5 separate regions of the Homo sapiens genome follow, and all the other regions are linked to region 1. Evidence: promoter capture Hi-C in human tissues and cell types (Jung and others, 2019). All regions are on one chromosome and are shown on one strand. The core of a region is centred on a gene start or on the middle of the fragment in contact, and the rest is flanking DNA. Distances in the headings are between cores, read along the strand shown. Region 1 holds the start of SETX (senataxin). Region 2 overlaps RAPGEF1 (Rap guanine nucleotide exchange factor 1). Region 3 overlaps RAPGEF1 (Rap guanine nucleotide exchange factor 1). Region 4 overlaps TSC1 (TSC complex subunit 1). Region 5 holds the start of AK8 (adenylate kinase 8).

The links. The method cuts DNA at HindIII sites, captures the fragments that hold promoters and counts their contacts. A contact is called where the count stands out against the background at its distance.
Region 2: a contact is called between a fragment that was not itself captured here and the fragment with the promoter of SETX in region 1, in 1 of the 25 tissues and cell types used here (dorsolateral prefrontal cortex).
Region 3: a contact is called between a fragment that was not itself captured here and the fragment with the promoter of SETX in region 1, in 1 of the 25 tissues and cell types used here (dorsolateral prefrontal cortex).
Region 4: a fragment that was not itself captured here is called in contact with the fragment with the promoter of SETX in region 1 in 1 of the 25 tissues and cell types used here (IMR-90 fibroblasts).
Region 5: a contact is called between the fragment with the promoter of AK8 here and the fragment with the promoter of SETX in region 1, in 1 of the 25 tissues and cell types used here (mesenchymal stem cells).

Annotation. Positions count from the first base shown.
Region 1 is chr9:132,351,825-132,357,057 of GRCh38, forward strand. SETX (senataxin) reads right to left here and starts at 3,162. Exons shown (of 26, transcript NM_015046.7): 1 at 3,093-3,162; 2 at 1,825-1,931. RefSeq lists enhancers at 2,426-2,927, 2,747-3,946, 2,928-3,427 and silencers at 2,812-3,021, 3,072-3,461. The HindIII fragment of the contact is 18,222 bases long and covers 1-5,233 here.
Region 2 is chr9:131,643,678-131,648,910 of GRCh38, forward strand. All of the region lies in intron 3 of RAPGEF1 (Rap guanine nucleotide exchange factor 1), which reads right to left. Among named protein-coding and RNA genes, the nearest start is that of RAPGEF1, 94 kb to the right of the region's middle. The HindIII fragment of the contact is 5,406 bases long and covers 1-4,943 here.
Region 3 is chr9:131,714,936-131,720,168 of GRCh38, forward strand. All of the region lies in intron 1 of RAPGEF1 (Rap guanine nucleotide exchange factor 1), which reads right to left. Among named protein-coding and RNA genes, the nearest start is that of RAPGEF1, 23 kb to the right of the region's middle. The HindIII fragment of the contact is 3,620 bases long and covers 438-4,057 here.
Region 4 is chr9:132,891,404-132,896,636 of GRCh38, forward strand. It overlaps TSC1 (TSC complex subunit 1), which reads right to left. Exons shown (of 23, transcript NM_000368.5): 23 at 1-5,233. The coding sequence ends at 4,832. Among named protein-coding and RNA genes, the nearest start is that of SPACA9, 15 kb to the left of the region's middle. The HindIII fragment of the contact is 3,205 bases long and covers 1,283-4,487 here.
Region 5 is chr9:132,875,777-132,881,009 of GRCh38, forward strand. It overlaps AK8 (adenylate kinase 8), which reads right to left and starts at 2,508. Exons shown (of 13, transcript NM_152572.3): 1 at 2,396-2,508. The coding sequence starts at 2,479. SPACA9 (sperm acrosome associated 9) reads left to right here and starts at 3,122. Exons shown (of 4, transcript NM_001316897.2): 1 at 3,122-3,238. The HindIII fragment of the contact is 8,008 bases long and covers 414-5,233 here.

The DNA of each region.
Region 1 (5,233 bases), core at 1,912-4,411:
CTTGCAATCATTAGTGAATGACAAATGGGTGTGTCCAGACAATACTCAAGTTGCAAAACCAAAATTAAAGCAACTCTCTGAGCACCCACCAAAAAGAGAGCTAATGTGTCAAAACCAAAAATATAGGATGCTTCACCATAGGTATTACTGTAATTTTCTACAGACTTATCCTTAGGCTATCCATTTCTCAACATTAACTAGCCAGAAACTTCAAATAACAATCTCTTTCTTCTACACTTCTCAGCTAAACATCTGGAAGTTTAGATTCACTACCTCCCAGCTCTTCAGCTCCTTTGCACTCTGGCTTCTACCCTTACACTCCACTGAATGTGAAGTCCCTAACAATCTTTACATTACCAATCCAATAGGTTCCTGACCTGACTCTGCTAAAGCATATGAAAATGCTGCCCATCCTTTCCTTACCTACAACACACCATTTTTTGGACACCACTTCTACCCAATCACCTTCATAATTACCCCTGCCTTTGTTACTCATATAAATGCTAAAGTTTTCGAAGGCTTGTCCTGAGAATTCTCACCTCTTCATTCAGTACTCTTTCTGGGCGGCCTACTTCAAACCACTGCTTCAACTACTGCCTAGATTGAAGCTGCCCAGACTGAGAATGTATTGTAAAACTTAATGCAGGCAGGGCGCAGTGGCTCACACCTGTAATTCCAGCACTCTGGGAGGCCGAGGCGTGAGGGATCACGAGGTCAAGAGATCAAGACCATCCTGGCCAACATGGTGAAACCCCGTATCTACTAAAAATATAAAAATTAGCTGGGCATGGTGGTATGCACCTGTAGTCGCAGCTACTGGGGAGGTTGAGTGAAATGATGCACTGTTCCACCTACTCAATAACTGACAGCCTAGCCTAGAACTCCAGATATATTCAATATCCAACTGCATACAGTGTATCTCTACTCACATATCTGACAGGCACCTCAAAGTAAACATGACCAGAACCCAACGAAGTCCTTCCCTTAAATCTGTTATTTGTTCTATATTCCCTTGTTGATGACATTACCATACATTCAATTTTCAAACCAGTAACCTAGGAATTATCCTATACGCTCCTTCTCCCTCAGCCGCAATCTCTGAGCTCCAGAGCCTACCCCTTAATTACATCTCTACTTTCTTCTCAGTGCAACCGCCACTGCCTTAGTTCAGTACATTTTCATCATTTGCCTGGATTACTGAAGAAGCCTAAATGATCTATTTCTTCTTTGATCGCCATCAATTCCTCCTCCAAAATGCTGCCAGAGGCCAAAGCCCCAAACTGGACTTCGAAAGCACAAATGACTCCTCCTCCAATGTTGGGATAAAATTCAAATTGCTGAGCTCAACACACACAAGGCCCGCGATGATCCAGCTTCCACATCATCTCTTTCCTCCACACTTACCTCCCTTGACTTGCTCTTCCTAAAACCATTCATGGTGACTGGTATTCCCTGCCTTTATGGAAGCTCTTCCACTGGCCTTGGAAACCCACCCTCCTACCTCTGCCCGGTACTTAACTGTGAATACACATCAGACTTACCTCAGGAACTTAAAAAAAAAAGTAGAAAAGATCCTATGGATAAAATTGTTTCCCTTTTAAAGAACTCCACTAAGATTCGAAGAGAAAGCTGGATTTGAGAACAACCAGTGTGCAAGCTCTTCCTGAGTGTCATCACGTCTGGGGGGGGGGCCTGTCCGACCCGTCCTCTCTTCCAGTCTATCTCTGATGACCTTCTTCTCTGTCCCTTTAGGACTCTGCACATGTTTCCATCATTGCACTTACCTTGGTGCTCTGAACTCCTGCTAAAAAAAAAAATTATTACCTGGACAAATGGCCTACAGAAAAGTGATCGTCTCAGCTGGGCTTAGTTGTGAACAAACACGGATTTGCATTCATATATGCCCAGACTCTGGCCCCAAAAGAACATTTCTGAAATTAAAAAACAAAAAACGAAATTGGTAAGTGGCATTTATACTCTATATCCCATCTGAGCCTGGTATCGATCCTATTACAGACAGATACTGCTGGCTGATGAGGAAGCCCAGATAGGTTAGACAACTTGGCTGTGGACTTCCAGGAAACAGCAGAACTGCAATTCTGACTCCCAGTTCCACAAGGGGCTGTCCCCACTCACGGGGACAGCTAGGCACCGAGCCAAAAATCCCCCAAGTTATTAGCCCGCGCAGGTAACATCAATCCTAGGATCCTCAGCTGTGTCACTTATCAAATACCACACTCGGCCTTCTCCTTGTGGAGCTCTTTTCCCTCAAGGCAGTCACCCCCGTTTCACTTGGGTCGTGCAAATTGCTGGGCACATCCTTAGATCCCCAGAAGTTGGGGAGGACGGACAAAGTCCTGTGGCCAGCAGCAAAAGCTCCAGCCCCTCCAAGTGGGAGAAACAGACTCTCCTCCAAACGAAGGGACCGGCCGGGCGCGGCGGCTCGGAGGATCCCTGGAGCAGCTGAGCTCAGCCTGGGAAACACAGCCAGGCCCTGTCTCTGCAACACATTTTGTTTTTAATTAGCCGGGCGTGGTGACGCGCGCCTATGGTCCCAGTTACTCGGGGGGATGAGGCGGAAGGATCGCTGGAGCCCAGGAAGACGAGGTTGCTGCGAGCCGTGACTGTTCCACTGCACTTCAGCCTGGGTGACAGAGCGAGACCCCGTCTCAAAAAAAAAAAAAAAAGAAAAAAGAAAAAAAAACAAAGGGAGGGACTCCAGGCGAGAGGCAGACGAGCGTGTGGAGGGAACCGACACTTTCCACCCCGAGACCTCCCGCTCAGCCCCAAGGAAACTACGCAGTATCCACACCAAAAACAGCTCACACGAGACCGCAGTGTAGACAACGGAAGGACAGGGGGTCGCAGCGGCCGGGTCCAGCGCGCAGGAAGGCAACAGGCGGCCGCCAGCCGTCGAGGGGTGCTCCCGCCCCCGCACCGAGGGAAGCGGCCGAGCCCGCGCCGACTCTTCCCCCATCCGCCCACCGGGACCTAGGCGCCGCGATGGTTCCCCGAAGCGGCCCTGCAAGCACAAGCCGCGCCTGCGCTCACGCCCGCCCGACCTACGGCCTCCAGCCCGCCGCTACCCTCACCGCTCTCTGGCTGGCGTCGGCCTCTAGCCCACCTCCATACCGGGCCCCGCTCTAGGCCACCAGCGGAAGTGCGGGCCCGCAGCCGCAGCTACCAACCAGCTGTTGCCGCGAGGTAGGCCCCGCCCCCGCGCTGAGTCGGCCGGCCGCAGGCCCCGCCCCGGCCGCTGCTTTCTGGTTTTGGTGCCCCCCAGGGGGCGGGGCATGGGAAGAGCGGCCGCGGTGCACCGCCCACGCCGGGCGCTGGCGTCACGTCCGGGCAGCTGGGGCCCGACCAATCCCGAGTCCCCGTCAGGGTGGACGGGGAGAGTTTGCCGCGGAACCTTGACCTCGGCCCCGCCCGGGGCTTCCTGCGGGTGGGGCGGCTCCGGGATGAGCTCTGCTGCGGGTGGGGTCAGCCCTTACCCGCTGGCCATTTCCGTTCCCTCTTTTTTCTTCTTTTTTCCACGCCTCAGGTGTCTCAGCGGATGTACTACGGTGACGAAGTAATTTTTCTCTTTAGATTTCCTTTAAAGACCTGAAATGTAAATTACATAAACGTGTAATTTCGGAGGAATATGTGTATATCCTTTATATTACAAGAAAGGGAGACCTTAGGTCTTGCGAACAATGCGCGCGATGCGCAACACAGCAGAGTAAATCCCTCGCTGGTGCGGTGGCTCCCGCTTCTAATCCCACCACTTTGGGAGGCCCAGGCGGGAGGCTCGCTTGAGCCCGGAGTTCAGAGACCAGCCTGTGCAACATAGCGAGACACCCGTATGTACAAAAAAAAATTAAAACTCAGCCACCGAGGCCGGGCGCGGTGGCTCACGCCTGTAATCCCAGCACTTTGGGAGGCCGAGGCGGGTGGATCACCTGAGGTCAGGAGTTCGAGACCAGCCTGACCAACATGGTGAAACTCCGTCTCTACTAAAAATAAAAAGATTACCTGGGCGTGGTGGCGGGTGCCTGTAATCCCAGCTACTCAGGAGGCTGAGGCATGAGAATGGCTTGAACCCGGGAGGCAGAGGTTGCAGTGAGCCGAGATCGCACCACTGCACTCCAGCCTGGGCAAAGGAGCGAGACTCTCTCTCCGGAAAAAAAAAAAAAAAAAAAAAAATTAGCACCTGTGGGCCCAGCTTGTTGGGAGGCTGAGGCAGGGGGTGGATATCCATTGAGACCGGGAGATCGAGACTGCAGTGAGCCGTGACTGTGCCACTACACTCCAGGCTGGGGAACAAAGCAAGACCCTGTCTCAGAAAAGTCTATAAATAAATAAAAATGAGTAAAATCCACTGGAAAGCCTATCCCCCCCCTTTTTTGTTTTTGAGATGGAGTCGCGCTCTGTCACCCAAGCTGAAGTGCAGTGGCGCAGTCTCGGCTCACTGCAACCTCCGCCTCCTGGGTTCAAATGATTCTCCTGCATCAGCCTCCCGAGTAGCTGGGAGTACAGGCGTGTGCCACACGCCCGGCTAATGTTCATGTTTTTAGTAGAGATGGGGTTTCACCATGTTGGCCAGGATGGTCTCAAACTCCAACCTCAAGTGATCCGCCCCGCCTCGACCTCCCAAAGTGCTGGGATTACAAGCGTGATCCACCGCACCCGGCCCCTACCCCCTTTTAGTAACGCCTACTACTGACCACGATGATGCAGCGTCACCGTCTTACAGTTAATAGAGGAGACAGGGAAATTAAACAATTAGTAGTGGTGACTCAGGCGATAAAAAAAGAGGCTGAGATGGGCCAGCTTGGGAAAAGTGGGTCAGATACAGCCTTACCGAGGAGAACCCTGGCCCGAGGATGAGGAGCAAGCCCAGGGGAACACTGCGGGAAAGGCCCAAGGCGAAGGAAGATTCTAGCAAGGGGGCGTGGCTTGTTGGAAGGGCGTGGTGGCCGTTATGCAAATTTAACCGTCTAAGGAGCAGCACGCGTTGACCGTTATTTTCCTCTTTTCTACTTCTTCATCCTGTCAAATATTTTGAACATATTTTGTTTTATCATATAACACTAATATACCAACACAGCCTTTATACCACCACAGTCATAAAATATAATTTTTTTTTTTTTTTGAGACGAGTCTCGCTCTGTCGCCCAGGCTGGAGTGCAGGGGCGCCATCTCGGCTCACTGCAAGCTCCGCCTCCCGGGTTCACGCCATTCTCCTGTC
Region 2 (5,233 bases), core at 991-3,490, 710 kb before region 1:
CCACTTATCCTCCTGTCTGTCCTCATCAGCCACACTGACAGACCACCACTAACCCTGTTAACTAGAGTGAGGACTAATTTGCTGATGACTTGGAGAAGCACCAGTCAAGGCCCATGGTACATCTGTATCCTGTAAATCACATCAAGAAGCTCCAGGCTTTTGTTTCAAAGATCTGAAAGACTGTGTAAGACTGGTCCAGGGCATGAGGGGCTGAAACCCATTCCCTCAGGACTCCTCACTAGGTTCCCAGATTGTTCACCCCACTGAAGCCCCCACTCAAGGAAATGATATGCTATTCCTCAAGGGCCTGGAAGCTCCCAGGGCTAGAAGGGGCAGGAAATCTGGGGAGAAAAGGCAGAGAAGCCAGAGCAGATGACCGTGATTCTCAAGATTCAATCACGACTCATGCAGTGGGCGCTAGCAGCATTCATGGTCCCTCTGCTCCTGAGAGAAGCCCACCTGAGAGAAAGGGAAAATACAGAGCCCTGCGCTTTCCAGTGTTTAAGCCACAACCCCAAGCTTTTCTCCCTGACCGTGGGAGGCCTTGGATCCAGTTGGTGGGTCTACACACCCCTTTTGTTCTTCTCTCCAACTTCCCCTCTACTTGCCCTGATGTCAATGATCCAGGTCTCAGCTGGCTGGCAGGAAAAGGAGGCTAAGAGTAATCTACAGAAGTGGAGTCTCTGAACCTGTTCTGGTTTGGGAGGCTGTCCTTTAAAAAAAAAAAAAAAAAGAGTAGTCTACAGAATGGATAAATCCCAAAATGGACAGTGTACTCAAGTAGTCGATTACATGTCTAGTGCAAATTAAGAGGGGTGTGTATGAGGCAAACAGCCACCTGCAGGATCTCAGAGGTCTAGAGGATATAAATAAAAACTGAGGGCAAGAAGATAATTTCTAGAAAAAGGTGATTTAAACAATATACAGACAAACAAATGGTAGAAATTAATAAAAAGTGCTTATGATTCTGAATACTAGCTCTTTTCTTCTAAAATAGTGCCGATTGGCCAGGTGAAGTGGCTCACACCTATAATCCCAGCACTTTGGGAGGCCAAGGTGGGCAGATCACTTCAGCCCAGGAGTCAGGACCAGCCTGGGCAACATAGTGACACACCGTCTCAATTAAAAAAATAAAGTTTAAAAAAAGGTGCAGAATATCATTTTAAATATAAAAATGTTCAATAGTAGAGGCTTTTATTTCATGGGAATGTCAAAAGAAAAATATATAAATGGCTACTTTAGTCAGACAATGCACAAAAGACCCAGTCATTTCTTTCATTGAGTCTTTCCCACAAGGTGTCCTGCAGACTAGAAGACACAATTCTCCCATGGTGGGGGAAGTGCCCTTCCTCATCCCCATCCCTGGGTCCTGCACCCTGGCTTTATTTTTCTCTTTTCACTACCTGACAGATTTGTTTACGGTCTGTTTCCAAGAGGCTGGGCGCTTACTTTTCCACCTCGTGGACAAGAGCTCTCTGCTTCATGTCATCTGCCCGGGGCAGGGAGGAACCTGAGTGTGAAGGAGTCGCAGTGCCGACAGACCTCAGATGTGCCTAAAGCCATGGTCAACCAGGCAAGAAGAGGACTATGACAGTAACACTGCCACCTTAGCACATCAGAAAGTGTTAGAGACCAGCAATGATGAAACTTGCTGAGGAACAGGAAACATTTTAAGAAAATGTGTCATCAGGTCACACAGGGAGAAAGTGGCTAATCTGAAGATGGGAGGCACTCGAAAGTGGCAAGGCACTTCAGAGCAGAGAGTTTTTCTGTCATTGCAGAGAGATCAAATCAGCTGTTTAAGAGTCAGGCTGTCCTGGGCTCCTCCTAAAGGAGCCAACAATGTAGCACAGCCAGGCTGCCTCCGTGAACTCAGATTCTACTCCCAGAATTAATGGCCTCTGGGTGTTGTGCATTCTCCAGCCTTTCAGCTGTCAAGCTGGGGATCCTTGTGAATGCAGCCAGCAGTGAGAGTTCACAGCCACACAGCCACATCCAGCACTGGCTCGGACTGGGGACTCCATGCCTTGGCTTTGCTGAAGCTGCCTCGCTGCATAACCCGAGGGCAGGTGCGTTCACCTGCGCACCCCTCCTGCTGTGGGGGATGGATTGCCATCATTGGTCCACATAAGCCTGGAAACTAAATGAGGCTGTCCGTGTCTGGGGATGGCTTAGAGACAAAGCCAACTGCTGGGCTTTGGGCTTGTCACCCACAAAATGGGGAGAATAACATCTGCCCCGTGTAACTAAAGAGGTGACTGTGGGGGACTGAATGAGAAAGCATATGAAGTGGTTCACAACATTTAACAGGCACTATACCAACACCAGAGACCATATACCTGCCAGTAATAAAGCAGAGAAAGAGGGCCTAGGATGGGAACATCTGAAAGGGAAGAAAGAGGCCAGATCGTAGCTACCACTCATCGGGGACATGGAGGCACCCACTGTGCTATGGATTTTATATAGGCTATTTTGTTTAAAGGTTACAACCACCCTGTGAAGTGGATACTATTATTTCACAGGTGGGGAAACTGAGGCTTAGTGGGACGTGGGGGAGGTTAAGCAACTTGCCTAAGGCCACACAGCTGTAGTGACAGATATGGAATTTGAACTTGGTCTGTCTGAGTTCAGAGCCTGGAGAGATAGAGAGGAGAATAAAGACCAGATCAGAAATGTGCTGAAGTTAAAAAGTTTACTTGAGATCCCCTGGTCAAAAAGATCTCATTTAACAAACGAGTAAACTAAGACCCCGATGGCAGAGATGGACATAAAATCCCCATCGCCTTTCCTGCCCCGTGGGCCATATTCATTTCTGACGCCCAGGCTGTGGCTCCACAGCCATGTGCTGCCACAGGAGATGGCGGGGAAGAGGGTGAGGAAAACTGGCCCTCCTCTCCAGACAGTTCTCTCCCCACAGCCGTGCCGCAGCCGGGACACCCGACTTGCTCTGTCACTCCTTGTCCCATCTGCAGCCTGGGTGCCTCCCCTCTCCACAGCAACATAAGCCTCATTTCCACACTATAGGACAGTGTACCCTGAAAATGTGGGTAAAGCCAGGGAGTGAGGGGGAGGGCAAGTCACAATCAGTATAATAAAAAACTAGAATTGCAGGATTAAAAAAAAAATGGCAATGCAACATTATTCCTATTAGTCCAGAACAGTGAGGCCTAGCAAGAAGACATGTCGAACACAGACATTGGTTACAATGAGAGCACCAAATCACCACCTGCCACCAGGCTGTCCGGCAGCAGCATCTCCCTGGAAGAGCTGAAGGGGAAAGGCTTTCAGGAATCCACCCAAGAGCACTCGGATCCAATCTCTGTCCAAATGCCCTCAGAGATGGGGCATTAACACCTCCCAGGACCCCCTGCTCACTGCTCATTGTAATTATACCTTTGGACACCCAGTATATGGCTAAATTTCCTCTACAACTTCAACACTCTGCAGCTCACTGCTAGACTTGTTAAAAGGTTGCAAAAAAGTTTAGAAGTTCATCACAATGTACTTTGAATTTTTAAATTCACTAAGAAGATGCAAGAGACTGCTAATGTGGAATCAGTCTGGGAAGACAACAGAATATAGTGAGAAAAACAGATTTTGATCAAGAAAATGTGCACCAGGGCCAACACTGTCTGCACAGTGGGAATAATAAAAGCTTCCCCACACAATTATGGTGAGGAGTAAATAAGACAGCATGTCTGAAACCACCCAGGACAGGGCTGGGGCGAGAAGGAGCCCTCGGGAAGTGGCAGCGAATCTGAATCTGTACTTTCATCTCCCTGCACTTCCATTTCCCTCGTATCTGAGCAGGGAAAGCCATGCATATGACCTGAAGTAAAATAAGAATGTACGTAATCACTCCCTAAGTGGTAAGAGAGCTAATGAATAATCAACGAGGGCAGCAGATGACAGACCCACTGCAAGGTTTCTTGGACATAATCCTCTAAGTCCACGTACTCTGGGAAGTTTCTCAATGCTTCTGGTTCTGTCCATGGGCCTCCACGAAGCAAGAGGTTCGCATTTACTTGTCCCACGCAGGTGGCTTGGGACAGAACACAGACATCCAACCCTTCCTAATGAGCAATGATGAAAAAGGGGTAACATTCCTTCTTGGGTGAAGATCACACCTACAGCTCCCTGCTACAGAACAGGTTTCTCAGCCTTGGCACTACTGACATTTTGGGGCAGAGAATTCTTTGTTGTGTGGGGGGCTGTCCTGTGTATTGTAGGATGTTTAGCAGCTTCCCAACCCCTACCCACTAGAAGCCAATAACATCTGCTTTGCCTTCCTATGGCAACAACCAAAAATGTCTCCAGACATTGCCAAATGGCCCCTGGGGTTTACAGGCACCCCACTAAATGAGCGGTACTTTAGCACTGAATTTTTCTCTGTGACCTCTCTTGGAAAAATGAATAAAGGGGAAAATCCCGGCTGGGTGCGGTGGCTCATGCCTGTAATCCCAGCACTTTGAGAGGATGAGGCGGGCAGATCACTTGAGGTCAGGAGTTTGAGACCAGCCTGGCCAACATGGCAAAACCCCATCTCTACTAAAAAATACAAAAATTAGCCAGGCGTGGTAGAGGACGCCTGTAGTCCCAGCTACTCGGGTGGCTGAGGCGGGAGAATTGCTTGAGCCTGGGAGGCGGAGATTGCAGTGAGCTGAGATTGCTCCACTGCACTCCAGCCTGGGCGACAGAGTGAGACTCTTATCTCAAAACAAACAAACAAACAAAAAAACAACAAAAACAACAAAAAGGGGGGAAATCCCAGGAATTGAGTGGCCGAACAGTTTCATATCAGAATTCACTAGCAGGATAACGTTGTTAGTAAGTGAATCATTTTACTCTGACTGCCTGGACTAGTGTTGGATGACAATTACACTCTACTTGTAGTTAATACTACATTCGGCTACAAGAGGTTACTAAACAGATTGCAATAAAAAATAACTGTGGCACAGACCAAATCTACTGTATTACTCTTCTTCAATCTGGAATTTAGATCAATCTGGCAAACACTGACTGTTTCCCTCTTGCTTGTCAGTCACCTTTCGTTAAAAGAGGGGGCAGGAAAAACCACTTTTCAACAAAAGACTTTTAGATTTAAAACCTTTATTTTCCTCCACTTTTAACTAAAATTTTAAGATATTCTGCTGGTCAACATAAAACCCAAAAATAGATGAACTGCAAAATTCAAGAATTATGTATTTAAATAACAGGCTAGTGTTTACCAGCG
Region 3 (5,233 bases), core at 998-3,497, 640 kb before region 1:
CATGGCCTCAGGTGATCCTCGAGCCTCAGCCTCCCAAAGTGCTGGAATTATAGGCATGAGCCACCGAGTCTGGCCGAGACTGCTTTGAAGTAACTTTCCTGTCCAGGCCTGGAGGAAATCATCGAAGGCAAAGGCCACCACGTGTCGAATGTCATAGGAAATACAAGCTCAGGGACTCTCTTATGACACATCTGCAAACTTATAGATCAGTCTCAGAATGTCATAGCTGGAGGGGCCTCAGAGATTTACTCAACAAATACCAACACGGAGCTTGGGGAGGGTCGGATAACATGCACGAAGAATCACTTAGTTATCCCGGTGATCAGTGCTAAATTCAGGGTGGGGGACGCATGTCTAGCAGGGCGACCTAATCTAAGCTGGAAGTCAGGGAAGGGTGAGACTTGAAGGATGAGCAGAGCTGGACCAGGCAAAGGGGCAGTGTGTATGAAAGACCTGTGTAGCTGGAGGTATGTGCCCAGGGGAAGGCCGGGGGTCAGATGGGACAGGGCCTTATAGATCCAGGGCTTTGTCTCATGGGCTTTGGGGGTTCCTAAGGTGCCGGCAAACCACGTGTTCATTCTTCTGGGAAGAGAGGTCTATGGCTTTCACCAAAGTCTTAAGGAGTTTCAAGAGGTTAAGAATGGCCGGGCACGGTGGCTCACGTCTGTACTTAGGATCCCAGCACTTTGGGAGGCCAAGGTGGGCAGATCACAAGGTCAGGAGATAGAGACCATCCTGGCCAAGATGGTGAAACCCCATCTCTACTGAAAATACAAAAATTACCTGAGCATGGTGGTGAGCACCTGTACTCCCAAGCTACTCGGGAGGCTGAGGCAGAAGAATCACTTGAACCCGGGAGGTGGAGGTTGCAGTGAGTGGAGATTGCACCACTGCACTCCAGCCTGGTGACAGAGCGAGACTCCCTCTCAAAAAAAAAAAAAAAAAAAAGAGGTTAAGAACTACTGATCTAGCCCAACTCATTACAATAAAATGGAGAAACTGAGGTCCAGAGAAAAAAGACCTTTCACAGGAGGCTAGAGGCCCCAAGTCACTGACTCCCATTGCAGTGCTCTCCCACAGCTAGCCCGCCGACCCACGTCTGCAGGGGATGTGTCAACAACTACATATGCTGGCTCCCATCCCACTGGCCACTGCTGCTGGATCCCACACGAGGCTGCTTCTATCCAGGCAGGCCTAGAAGGACAATCTACGGAAATGAACTGCAAAGTCACCAGCCCATCTTTCTTGTGCAACCTAATCTGCAAAACACAGGGGCTCAGAACCTGTCCCTTGCTTCAGATTTCAAGGACCCCCCCAATGATACAGTTTCTGGCTTTTCAAGAAGCTTCATGGATGAGGCTGGTTCACTGAAGGGCAATCAGGGCTCAGCATCCAGCCTTCTGAAGAAGCTGTTTACTTGTTGTTCTTTACAAAGTCAGGACTTGGCCAGGAACTAAACGTAGCCCTCAGTATGGGAAAGGGAGAAATTTGGAAGACTTGGTGGAAAGTCTAAATATGTAAGGAGAATGCTTCTTAAACCCCTGATGTGGCCAGGCACTATGGCTCATGCCTGTAATCCCAGCACTTTGGGAGGCAGAGGTAGGTTGATTACTTGAGCCCAGGCGTTTGAGACCTGCCTGGGCAACATGGCAAAACCCTGTCTCTACAAAAAAAGGAAAAACATAATTAGCTAAGCATTGTGTTATGTGTGTCTGTAGTCACAGCTACTCGGGGGGCTGAGGTGAGAGAATGGCTTGAGCCTGCGAGGCAGAGGTTGCAGTGAGCCAAGATCGCGCCATTGCACTCCAGCCCGGGTGACAGAGGCAGACCCTGTCTCAAAAAAATAAAATAATAAAAACCCCTCGATGCTTCCTGTAATACTAAAGGTAGAAGTCCTAAGTACGTGGATTGGCATTCAAGGCCTTTTGGAGTCTGGCCCCAAATTACCTTTCCCACCTTCATCTCCCACTTCCTCACACGGCGACTGGACACTGTGCATAGCCGTGCACCTGCCTGCCTGCACTGTAGCTCCTGTCCCTCCTCTCCAGCGAGTCAAAGGAAACCTCACAGCCAACATCCAGTGGACTCTCAAAGATCAGTGTTGAGGGTCCCACAGCCTCGGGTCCCACAGCCTCTGCTTCACTTGGACCATGGCAGTATTGGAAGGGGTAATGCCCGCACTGGGGAAGACTCCAGCCCCTCTCCTGGCCAGCCCGCTGACCTCAGCCTCCAGGCTGTGATGCCTCTGCCCTTTACAACTCCCCGCCTCCAGATAAACTTGACAGAGCCACTCACTGCTGATGGCCCTCTGCACTGAGCTGCATGAGGATGAACACGGTCACAGCCTGCACTCTGGCTGTGCTCCTCAAGCTTGTAAAAATGCACCTGTCTCCCTTAAGAGGTGTGGAGTCCATACACAATGGGTACTCACTATCCACTGAACAAAAATTAGTGAGCGTCAGCTATGTGCCAGGCACCATTCTGGGCTCTGGTGAAATAGCAGCCGACAGGGAGCTTACCTCCCAATGAGGGAAAATATCATAAAAAAGAAGCAAATAGGCCAGGCGCGGTGGCTCACACCTGTAATCCTAGCACTCTGGGAGGCCAAGGCAGGCAGATTGCCTGAGCTCAGGAGTTCAAGATCAGTCTTGGCAACATGGTCCCTGTCTCTATTAAAAACACAAGATATTAGCGAGGCATGGTGGTGCATGCCTGTAATCCCAGCTACCGGGGAGGCTGAGGCAGGAGAATCGCTTGAACCCAAGAGGTTGCAGTGAGCCAAGACTGCACCACTGCACTCCAGCCTGTGCAACAGAGTGAGACTGTCTCAAAAAAAAAAAAAAAAGGCTACATTTAAAGGGGGAAAAAGAGCGGGGGATGAGGGACAGAAAGTGATGCGCACCCTATCTGTTATTCTGGGCCCAGTGGTTAGGGCTGACCTCTCTGGGTGGCATCTGAACAAAGATGTGAGGCAGCTAGGGATAGGGAGCAAAGGACACAGGAAGAGGAACTCATGTTTGCCCAGTTCTTCCAATCGAGTACTCCCCAGCATGAACTCACCAAAACCCTACCGCAGGATCCATCTTATCAATGAGAAACTGATTTTTAAAAGGAGATGGGTGAGCAACTTTTCCCAAGATCACATGATCAGCAAACGGTGGCACCAGCAGCCTTTAAACCGTGGCTCTTGTCCATGGCTTCTCAGCAGGTGCCCTACAATATCTGGGGAATGAATGTTCCAGTAAGAGAACGGCAAGTGCAAAGGCTCTGAGGGAAAGGAACACCTGGAAGAAGAGCACAAAAGCCAGTGTGGCTGGGACACAGTGACGGGGAGAGGGGTGTCAGGGAGTGAGTTAAGGGCCAGAGTCCAGGGCGCACACAGGCCACGTCGAGGACCTCGGATCGCTTCACATGTGTGGGGAAGCCCCAGGCAATCATAAAGAGGATCCATGTGATCCAGTTCACACTCTGGCTGTGAAATGCAGAATGAATGGCTGTGAGTTGGGAGAAGAAACCAAGAAGCCGGTTAGGAAGGCATGGGGCAGTCCAGGGAGAAACGGCGGTGGCCTGGAGTAAGGGGTCAGCAGAGGAGGTACTAAGAAGGACCAGTCAGGATTTATTGGAGTAAATCGCAGGGGTTTACCGAGGGACTGGATGTGCGCTGGGAGAGAGGAGGCAAGGACACCCTCATTGTTTTCTCATCCAAACCAAGATTTCTAAGCCTGAACAATCGGATCAAAAATGGCATTATTTACTGTGATAGGGGAACCCAAGGTGAGTTACCAGGCAGAGAGTGAAGGGGAGAACCAAGAGTTCTGGTTCAGGTGCATAATGTCCTAAAGAGGGGCTGGAAACATGCATTTGAGAAGGACCAGTGTTTAGCTAGCTGGCTTAGTGCCACGGGACTAGGCTGCCTGTTCCCAAATGGCAATTCAGGAGACAGAAGAGCCCAAAACAGAAGGCTGAGATGAAACCCTTTACAGAGCACGTACACTTGATGCTGTAAAATTACTCATGGGAGTACTGCGTGACTTCAGATATAATTTAAATTTTAGAGGTTGTGGCTTTTTGTGTGTGTGTGTGAGACAGGGTCTCACCATGTTGCCTAGGCTGGACTTGAACTCCTGGGTTCAAGTGATCCTCCCACCTCAGCCACCAGAGTAGCTGGAACTACAGGCACATGCCACGGTGCTTGGCAAAATTTTAGTTTTCACGTTCTGGATGCTTAGTTTGTAAATGTCTTGCTTATCATGACTAATATGTCATCCAAATTAATCAGCTAATATCCCAAGGCACAATATACATTCAGAGTGAGATTCACCAAAGAGTTTTCTTCCCAACTGCTCAGCTTCTGGCCATCTCTTGTCAGGGCTCATTAGATCACTGTTGTTTTTCCCTCGCAATACTGCTGACAAGAAGCATGAACTGGAAGCAGAAGTGTCACCATTTTCTTGTTCACGTGTACTTATACTACTAGAAAAGTCTTCAGTCTGTGATGTCTTTTTGGGGCTATTATTAAGCTACTTCTCTATTTTATAAGGGTTTGTTTCAATACTGGGCAGCGGCTTCAACCTAGCTCTTCAACCCAGCTGGACAAGTCACATAAACCCTTCAGGGCTTTTTTTTTTTTTTTTTTTTTTTTTGAGACAGTCTCACTCTGTCACCCGGAGAGATAGTAGTAAGCTGATGTTCATTAGGCACTTAGCCCATGCAGTACCAGGCTCCTTTCTGTGTATTTTACTCTCGTGGTTGCATTAGATCCTCACGATAAGAGAAGGATACTGTTACTGTTCTCATTCTACAGAGGAGGAAACTAAGACACAGAGCTTTTCTTTGAGATCTGAAAGAGTTAAGATTTGTACATAGTCATACACCGAATTGGGGCAAAGTTAGGGGAATAGTTCATCTGACTATTGCCCACACAGCTATATTTTCTTCTTTTCTTTCTTTCTTTTTTTTTTTTTTTTGAGACAAGAGTCTCACTCTGTCACCCAGGCTGAAGTACAGTGGCACGATCTCAGCTCACTGCAACCTCCCCCTTCTGGGTTCAAGCGATTCTCCTGCCTGAGCCTCCCGATTAGCTGGGACTACAGGCATGGGCCACCACACCCAGCTAATTTTTGTATTTTTAGTAGAGACAGGGTTTCATCATGTTGGCCAGGCTGGTCTCAAACTCCTGACCTCAGGTGATCCGCCCACCTTGGCCTCCCAAAGTGCTGGGATTACAGGCGTG
Region 4 (5,233 bases), core at 1,635-4,134, 540 kb after region 1:
GACATTTTAGAACATTCTAAGAAGGACAGCAAACTCTTTTGATTCCAATTCCCATTCACTAAGATTGTACCATTTTATCCTGCAGTTCATATTTATGGCATCTGATGTGGATTGTTGACATGCTTTTAGGATTGAGGCGGGAAAGTTTAGACCTTTTGACAAGAGCTGACTTTCTTCAATTTAACTAAAAGCAGTCCGTTAAAAAAAATCAGTTTCTTTCACTGATGGGACCCCTTTAAACTGCAAGTTTGCCACACATGGTTCATTCATGATTGAGTTATAAAACTAGATTATGTCTTAGCAAAATCTGTTCCTCCGTAATATATTTGTGGTCCATAGAAGTCTTCTGAAAAGTGATTACTGATTCTTCCTAGTGCAAAATGCGTGGCTGCCTCTTTCATAAGCCAAAGTACTTGCTACACAGAGCAGCACCATACCCTCCTGTCCAAACACTGTAAGAGGTGGGGAAAGGGAGGGAAGGGTTGGTCTGGGGGTTCTCAGACTCTCAGGGTTTCCACTGAAAGGTCCATTCCAATGGTTAAACCAGCCTACTTATCTCAGAGGATGGATAATGTGGCGCTGCGAAGTGGGGAGGAAGCTCCTCTGCCATCATTAACTCGTTTCATGACCAGAAGCCATGGGCACAGGTGCTCGGCTCTTCCAGGCAGGCTTCCCTTGTAGCTACAGCTACTCTTCCCTCAGGCGAGCAGATAAGGACTGCAGGACGGCATGGAAGAGACAGGAACACGCTCCCCTGGGCACATCGAAGAGTCCCGGACAGGCAAACAAGCCACATGGGACAAGGGTCACAGCAGCAGCCTAGGGGCCAGTCCTCGACCTAAACTTGTTCTTTCACCTACAGACAAAAGCTTAATCAAGTGCAATCAATGCCTTGGGATCTTTGCAGCAATCTGGGGGGCATGTGTCACAGAACTCTGGATGTAAACAGATACACAAACATCTTCAGACTGGATACATTTTTCCAATACTTGTTGCGGGTCGGTTTTAAAGCATGTACCCTGGAGAGTGAAGGTGCAGCAGATAGGTATACTGATTTGAGTCACTCCACACCAGGCAGCTTCCTTCTCCAGGTGGGGCAGAGCCCCCTGGGGGAACAACTCTCCAAGAGTATCCGCAGGAGGTGGGCGGCACCCCATCTCACCAAGGTCCTGGCCGGGTCTTCGCTCTGCCCAAACCCTCCTCCAGCCTGTGCAGGCCTCCTCCCACCTCTTAGTGCTTTCAGCGAGAAAAGGTGAGTCTCATTACGCAGAACTTTTGTTTGCTCTTCGGTTCTTTCCTTCTTCAAGTGGTATGCTCTACTATTTGGTAGAAATTCACATTGGCTTGTCACAGCACACTTCAGTTCTGCTGGCTACATGAAACGCATACCCAGTTTTCTATTCTTAACAGTGAGTCTGAGCCTCTGTGGTCTCAGAGATCCTTTCATCCCCATGACCATTTTATACATCCTCCCCTCAACAACTGCTAGAGTTTTATCTTTCCCAACAAATATACCAGAAACTATGTGTGCTGTTGCAAATGGGGACGGCCCAAGAGTCTGGAGTTTTGTTCCCTGCTGCCCTGCTTTTACCCAGTAATGTGCGGCATGGTGGGTGAATTTTTCTAATTGTCCTGGGTCGTAACAGTTCACCTTCTCAGAACAGTTTGGACTGTTTCCCCAACCATGTCACATAAGCTTTGGCTCACAAAGTAGCTCACCTCTCGCCTCTCCACTCTTCAAGCTTAGTAAGAAGATTCCGCAGCTTAGTCCCAAAGGTCAGGCAGTTTTCTCTCCTGAAAAACTCTGTGGACACACCTAGAGAGGTCACTGTCTGCCCACCTGCCTTAGTAATGCTGGTCCTAAAACTCATCTCCAAGGACATCTTTCACAACTTCTCCATCTAAGAAATGACCTTGACCTTCCTACCTTTGGGTTTGTTTTTTTTCTATTCATGACCACGTGTTTCTTCCAATCCCATAATAACAATTTTTATAGACTGTATAGCAGAGCCTTGTCAACGGCTTTTTGAAAATCCATCAAAGTTCTATCAGATGCAGATCTGTGTGTTTATTCACCTGCAGGGACTCCGGAGCTCATTTGCTCTGCGTCTTCCTATCCCCCTCCCCGCTAAAACTGTAGTGCACCTTTTTAAAGGAATTCCATGCTGCACAGCAGCAGACTTCGGGCTCCTCGGGGCCTGTGCTGACTCTGGTTAGTGTCAGGTGGGGATCCGAGTAGGTTATGCACATTGGCCAAACAGCTGAGACAGGTATGCTCACCCATAGTGATTTCTGGATGGAGGCCATCCAATCCCAATATTTATGAATACCAAGCTGCTTAATTGGTTTCAAGGTAGACTCTGCCCTTAACGCTTATTGTACTAATACCTTTGCCCAGGACTGAATTGCCTCTCGAGAGTAATACTGTCACCTTTCCATCCTTAGAACTACCCACTGCAGCATGATCAAGTGACCTGTTGACTCTTGGCAGGTTTATCATGTCCAAAACCAAACCAAACCTAACTACTGACTCTGGAGTTCTTTGCAACATGAAAGCCTACATTTTTAGGTTGGGCACCTTCAACATGACTCCAGGTCTCATTCTCCCAACCGTAGTTGAATAAAACCCACAGCCTCCTAGAACTCAAAGGCACCTGAGCTTGGAGCCACATTTGTTATAAAGCTGAGTAAAAGGACACCCAGGCCGCATGGATGAGCTGAGGACCCTGTGCAGACACGTCCATGGAGCTTCTAGCACAGGCCTCTCTCCATGCTGCCTCCTTTCTTCCCTTTATTTTTATAAGCTGTCCGTTTCTAAAATGTTTTTTCTTTTGCACTTGGGCCTCTTTTCCTTTCCAATTCAGGAAAAGGCTTTAAGTGCCTGGTATCTTGTTCTATGGCACAGATCTCTTGGGCATGAGGAGAAGGAAAGCACTTAAAACCAGTTTCAGGATTCACTGATGGGATTTCCTTCCCTTTCTAAGTTTGTTCACGTTTTCCTTTTCTAAAACGGAACCAGGAAACTAGACTGTATTGGGTTTTAAGCTTTCCTTTGGACAAAGCTGAATTAAATGTGTGGTGTCACTAATACTCCACATCTGACAATTCAGTACCAACTGCCAGCCTGTGCTAGGCTGAGTAGTTGGGACCACGCCCTGCCACAGGCTGGGAATCAGTCACACCCAGAAAGCCTGCCTGAACAGGTTTTCTGCTGGTATAGCTAGGGTGACAGAGTCTCTAACTGTCTAGTCCCCTTTAGTTAGGGATGCTAGAATATTTATTGCCATGCTAAAAAAAAAAAAAAAAAAAAAAGACTTTCATTCTCTCTGCTCGAGGCCTCCGTGGGCACTAAGATTTCGTACCGTGACAGTTTTTTACCTCTTTATGACTGAATCCTTCTATTCTTTTTAATGAAAGATAGAAACAGGAAAGCCAAGTTCACTGGCTCCTTCCTACCAAATCCCCCTGCCTCAGCTGGAACACCAGACCACAGTTCTTAGGCTTCTAGCGTTTCTTTCAGGAGCACTTGTTGAGTTTGGATTCTCTGCCACTGCCAATTTTCTGACTAGTGTCATCTCTCGGGAGCACGTGGGGCAGCCTAGTGGGTATACACAGCCAGCCTTTGCCAGCATTCTCCCGGACTCTGTTTAGACTGCTCTGCCATTACTAACATGGAGAGTGTGATGACATCAGCTCCCTGGAGAGTCAGCCCCTGAAAGTTGGAATTGGTATGAAAAAGCTGCCCCTCTTCTGGTAGCCTAGAACCTGCTACAGTGAGGCAACCCTAATGGCCTGGGAAATGATGGTCACATACACTTTGCAGAAACTCTTTGGACCTTCAGAGCCTTTCTGCTGCAGTGTCACATATAAGCTGACATGAACAAGAGGCGTATGCACACAAAGGGAGGCCAGTAGACAGAAGGGTTTAACAAAAGGCCCAGCAAGCTGAGATGGCCTAAAGGTGCAGTTCCTCATGCTCAAGTGCTTCTCGGGTAACCTCTCCCAGTGACTGCTCCTTCCCTCCTATGGAGAACAGGTTTTACCACCTACACACCAGCCTGTGGTCACAATAGTACCAGCATTCAAGCAAACACCAAATAAATAAGAGGTAGTGGGGGAAGAAGAGACAAGAGCTTTCCCAAAGGGTGTGTGGTCTCCACAGTGCCAGCTCCAGATTTCTGAAACAGGCTTCTGTTTACACAGAACTTTCTAGGAAGCTTATCAGAACTGCCAAAAGAATGCAAGTATGAATAAACCGTTGTTCTTCTAGACCTGCTGCTTTAGATGCTGAACTTCAGAATCAAAAAAGCAGTCGGAAAGTCTCATGTAAACGCTTTCATGTAAAGACAACCAGCTTTGCAGGCTATGTCCTCCTGGAAGGGACAAAACCAGACTTACCTGCAATGCAACAAACTACCTGGTCTAATTGAGAGCCAACCCAGTTATCTGAACTTCGGGAAAGCAGAAAGTGGTGTGTTAGACTCAAAGATTAAATTTGGCCTCATATTGCACAGGTTCAAAGGACGCAACCATTTGGGGGGGAAAGGAAGAAAGTAAAGCTACTGAGGAACACCAACTGGCCCTTGGATTAGAACACACTGCGAGGTAAATGAGAGGGGGTTAGGGCGGGTGGAGGGGAAGGTCAAGAGGCATTTCAATGCCAGATCCAAAAACCGTTCTGCATTCAGTCAGCTGTCCAAAGGACCTCCGTCCCATTTCCACACATGAACTTGCACTCAGACCCTGGAAACAGGAAAGCTTTGAAACGTGCATTCACACCTCCTGTTCTGTGCCAACAATATGCAAGTTAACACTGATTGACCATCATTCCTTAGCTGTGTTCATGATGAGTCTCATTGTAGTCCATGATATGTAGCTGTCCAACACTGTCCGGGGTCGGGGGAGACGGGTGAGGGCCATCTAGGTTCAGGGGAATCTTGGCTTCCACACCCAAGTCTTTGCCCAGTTCTGTCTTTAGGCTCTCAGAAAGGCTACTGGTCATGCCGTCCTCATCACACTGGCTCTCGCTCTTATTACGAAATAACTCTCGAGCCTTCATACCCAGGAAGCTTTTTGAACTGGGAAGTGAGCCCACAGTGGTGGGGATGCTGGCAGACGCTTCTCCCATAGTCGTCTCCCACCGACTGCTGAATGGGCCTGCCCTCTGGTGTGGGGGTTTCTCTGGGGTAGAAAGCTCGCTGCTGCTGCTGCTGCTGCCTCCACCACCTCTGCT
Region 5 (5,233 bases), core at 1,258-3,757, 520 kb after region 1:
TCTGCCTAGAGCCCTTGGCACCCCAATACCTGGCAGTCATAGCAGATGCCCAGCGCAGATGTTTGCTGGGGAACATGACCGTCACCACTAACTGTGTCTCTCCAGAATGGAACAGAATGTTACCAGCCAGATTTCTAAATAGTCCTGGGATATTCTGGCCATTTCATCCAATCAGGCAAGCATATCAAGAGAAAGCAGCTTCTGGGGTTGCAGAACCCTAGGCAGAGAAATGAGGAGGAGCTCATAGCAGCTGTGCTGCTGCAATAAGGGGTATCCTTGAGCCCCAGGGACAAGGAGGGAGGGGCTGTAGCCCTCTTGGAGTGAAGGGAGTGTGGGGCAGGGAAAGAGCACCGAGCCATGAGAAGTCTTGGTTCCAGCCCCACTGTATCTCATCAGCAAGTCCCTTCCCTTCTCTGGGCCTCAGCTTCTCTGCCTGTTCAGTAGCACAGCTGGAGTGAATTCATGTTTGTATGTCACTGGTGCGATGATGGAATGAGATGATTTTAGATGGTTCACACATAAATATTTTACATTTCATGTTTAAATCATTGTGTATTTAACGTGTATTAGAAATATAAGTACATCAAATCAATAATTTCAAGGATATCACTTAGGATGAGGCAAAAGCGGCTATTTAATTTTTTAAAAGGTGAGTTGATTTAAACAAGTGATTAGTTTAAATGGAGGTGCAGTAGCGGTTATGCAAATCTGTACATGTGATACAACTGCACAGAACTGTATGCACAACAAAAACATCAATGCAGGTAAAAATGGAGGAAATCCAAACAAGGCCTACAGTTCAGGTAATCCTATTGTACCAATGCCAGTTTCCTGGTTTTGACAATGTGCTACAGTTATGTTAGATGTTATCACGGGGGCAATGTGGGAGGGGAGACCAGAAATCCATACTATTTTTTAACTTCCTGTGAATCTAACATTATTTTAAAATCAAAAGTATAAAAAATGGAAATGGTCAAAAACATGGAGGGAATCCACAGATGACTAAGGACTGGAAATACTGGACTGAAAGCTTTCTTGTTGGGAGGCCGAGGCAGAAGGACTGTTTGAGCCCAGGAGTTCAAGACCAGTCCGGGCAACATAGCAAGACCTCGTCTGTACTAAAATTAAAAAAAAAACATTAGCCAGGTATGGTGGCCTGCACCTGTAGTCTCGGCTACTCTGGAGGGACTAAGGCAGAAGGATTGCTTGAGCCCAGGAGTTCAAGGCTGCAGTAAGCCATGATTGTATCACTGCACTCCAGCCTGGGCAGCAGTGCAAGACCCTGTTTCAAAATCAATAAAAGCTTTCCTGGGCAATTCCTCCAACAATCAATGTGGAAAACACACCAGGTTCTCTAGAGCAGACAACAGGGCTCCAGATGATCCCCCATCCTGCCCTGACCTGCTGACTTCTAACCCAGCTAGCTATTTGATTTGTGATTGGCCACTCAAGCAGTTTTAGGAATCTCTTGCTCTCCCTCTATCAGTTAACACTTTCCGAGGGAAATGTGTTTGATGGAGGTGCAGACACGGGTTTCTTCGTCTGGGCTCAGCTGTCTAGTGTGCAGGGCAGAACCTCAAATGACCACAGACACCACTATGCCCTCCATGCCATGCCCCTGGGGATGGGGTGTACCCTGGGAAGCAGACAAATGATCTGAAAACTGAGCTCCAGCTTCCCCTTGCCTCTCAGAACCTTTGAGTGGCTGAGAGTTCTTCCCCTCCAGCTCCTGAAAGCCTTGACCTCCACCACGTGCAAAAGGGAAAACTGGGGCCCTGGCGGGGACGGGGCCTCGCCCAAAGTCACACGGTGAGCTGGGGGCCCAGTCAGGCCTGGAGCCAGAATGAGAGCTTCGGAGCTGCCGGGGACGTCTGGCCCTGAGGAGGAGGGACCAAGGTGGGAGATGCTGCTGTCCCAGAGGCGGCCCTCTCTGAGGATGGAGATGCCAGCTTGAACTCGGACAATGCCCACCTCAGAAACCTGGGCCGAGAGGCTCCCCACAAATTCGACAGATGGTAATTGTCAGCGCCGGGAGAGCCCCTGGGAGACCACCTCTTGCAACCTGGCATTTCACAGGTGGGGAAACCGAGAAAAGGAAAGGACTGGTTCCAGACCATAAGGCCCGCTGGCGGCACAGCCAGGACCAAATCCCGGCTCGAGTGGCCCCCTTCCTCCCCCTGGGTCCGCCTGAGGCAAACCCGGGCAGGACCAGGAGCGTCCCCAGCTCGAGGGCCCCCTCGGGGTCACGGCGACACACGAATCGTACATCCCGAGTTGGGCTGCTTCGTGGGCGCGCGACTCGGCCCCAGCTGCGGGTCCCGGCCGCGCACCCGACGTCGCAGTGGAGGCTCCCGAGCCGCCGCCAGCGTCGCGACGGGCAGGGGTGTCCGGTCACCTGCATCAACTCGAAGATGTGGTTCTCCTCCCCGTACTGGGGCATCTCGGGGGGGATACGGTGCGGGGCGATAGTGGCGTCCATGTAGCCGTCTCGGCTCGCCGCTCCCTAGTAACCGCGTCGCTAGGGCCGCCGCGCCGACTGCGTCATCAGCACGCGCCGCGGCCCCGCCCTGCAGGCTCCGCGCCGGGCCCAGATACCCGATCCTCGGTCGCGCGGGTCGCCCCCGCCCCGACCTCCCCGGCTGACGCGCTCTGCGGCTCGGGCAAGTTCTTTCCCCAACCCCGGCCTCGCTTTTCCCATTTGCGCATCTTAGCGGGGGACACCCTCAGGTGGCTTCCAGCTGGGCCTCCTCGTATCTGAGACCCCCGACGAAACCCAGAAGGGGCAAGTCGGCCCTCCGAGGGGACGGGAGGCAGAACCTGCTTCTGGTTCTGTCAGTGCTCCCCGGCCCGGCTCCCTGTGCCTCAGTTTACCCATCTTTAAAACAGACGCGGGAATAAATGTGGGGGAGGGTGTTTGAAGGGGGAGGGGCGTCCATGAGATGGGCCGGAGGTTCGAGGATCGGGTGGAAATCCTCAGCCCAACTCCTAGAGTCGAGCCCCGGTAGACCCCTCCCAGCTCCCCGGCTCTGGCCAAGCCGCCAAGTGACCCGATTGCTATGGCACCGGCGGTAACAATCACGCCCGCGGCCCCGCCCCTTCTCGCCCGACGTCCCCACCCACCCTCGCCTCCCAAGTCCTGGAACGGGCCTCCCCACCCTCCGGGGCACCGACACTCACGGAGTCACTCCAACTTCTCTGGGTGCTCCGTGGAGCGAAGAGCGCTCTAGGACAAGCAAGGGTAAACAGGGATGAGTGTGGGTGGGCCCACTCGGACCCCACCCCGGCCTCTGGGTCAGAAACTGGAAGCTGGGGTGGAGGATGGAAAGATGGAGGGGTCCGGAGGATGGAGGGGCCTGCACAGCTGTCTCGGGGTGGGGGCGAGGGGAAGGTTCGCGCTGGAGACGGAGCTTTTTAAGTCGTATGAATTCCCAGTGGTACGGGGCAGCTTGATATTTTATTAGTCGCAACACTGAATTGGGATCTCTAGCTCTTGTCTGTTGCCGTTAATCGTAGGAGCTGTAAGAGTTTGTTGAACTCTTTGTGCTCTCGGCAAAATTCTGTTGTCTCTGTACCTTATGGAGAGGGAAAATGGCACAGTCAATGCAGACAGCCCCAGCTTCAAGTTCTGGCTCCGCTTCTTACTGTGTGAGCTTGGCAAACTCTCTGCTTGCTCCGTGCCTCACTTTCCTGCCCTGTGAAGAGGGAACTGCTGAAGGATTTCAGGAGCTAATGTATTGGAGAGTAATTGGCATGCAGTAAGCACACAATATATGGGGCTACTATTAGTAGTAGTATCTCATTTAATCGTTCCAACAATCCTGTGAAATAGGCACCTTCATTCCCATTTTACAGATGAGAAGTTGGAGGATTAGAACAATGAGGAGTGGTTGGCTGGGTAACTTTGGGTGAGTCACTTCCCCTTTCTGGGCTTCTTTTCTCATCAGTTGTTGATCATACAGCCTTAGAACCAGAAGGCCTCTTGAAGAAGAGGCTAATCCAAACTCTCTCATTTGACAGATGGATAAACTGAGGCCCAGAAAAGGGGGAAATCTTGGCTAGGGCCACTGGTTAGATTGGGCAGAGCCAGGGCATGAACTCTGCATCCAGGCTCCAGCTAAAGCCCTTTTCTACCAGCCATCAGCCCAGAGACATGCCCTCCCAACGTAAAAGCCAGCACTGTTGCCTCTTCCCCTCCAAACCGCTTCCTCAAAGTGTGTACACCTTGGTAGGCTTGTCAAACCCAACTGTAAAGATAGCTGGGGAAGAAAAGGAAGCTGCCTCCCCCTGAGCAAAGAACACAACAGCCATGCCTGCCATTTGCACTGGAGAGGTTTGTTTTGCTTCCTGGACATTTCTGAAATGACTTGCCTTTCTCCTCATTTATTTTAAGCCCTAGGCGCTTTTCCTACCATGATTCAATCTTCTTTAGCAGCCTGGAAAAATACAAATCAATTAAAGCCTAAAACCTATGGGTAATCATTTTTTTCCTCCCTCCTCCCCCAGATCGAGAAGTGCCCGTCCCCTGTGCCCTTCATCCACACTAATTTGGCTGCAGTGGCTCTCGTTCAAGGGACGATCACTTCGGATAGCTTATTACAGCTCCTCTCATGACATTCCTGGCGTGCATGTCACAAGTTGCTAGGATCAAGAACAGAGTCAGTTCCTCTCAACCACTACCAACCACAGCTCCCACCATGATGAGGGAAAAGCCAGGCCGAAAGGGCACACGCCCTTTCTCCCTGGAACTCCACCTATGTGCTCTCTCTCACTTTTCTGGAGCTTCACCTTTGAGTCATTTGTAAGCCCTGGGCCAACATTAGGGCAAGGCAAGTGATGCACCCTCAGCACAAAACTTAAGGGAGTGCCGGCAATTCAATCATTGAGGTGGATGTTTTTCACGTTTTAATGCAATATATTTTAAAAATCAAAAATAATGCTGCCTAAAATCCATTTAGAATAACATGTCAAAAATTTAAGTAAAGGTAGGCTCAGTGTTACTGATTTCTCCTTTTGCCTCAGGCCTCAGTATGGCAAGGTGCAGCTATCTTTTTTTTTTTTTTTTTTGAGATGGAGTCTTGCTCTGTCGCCCAGGCTGGAGTGCAGTGGCGCCATCTCGGCTCACTGCAAGCTCCGCCTCCCAGGTTCACGCCATTCTCCTGCCTCAGCCTCCCGAGTAGCTGGGACTACAGGCGCCCGCCACCGTGCCCGGCTAACTTTTTTTGTATTTTTATTA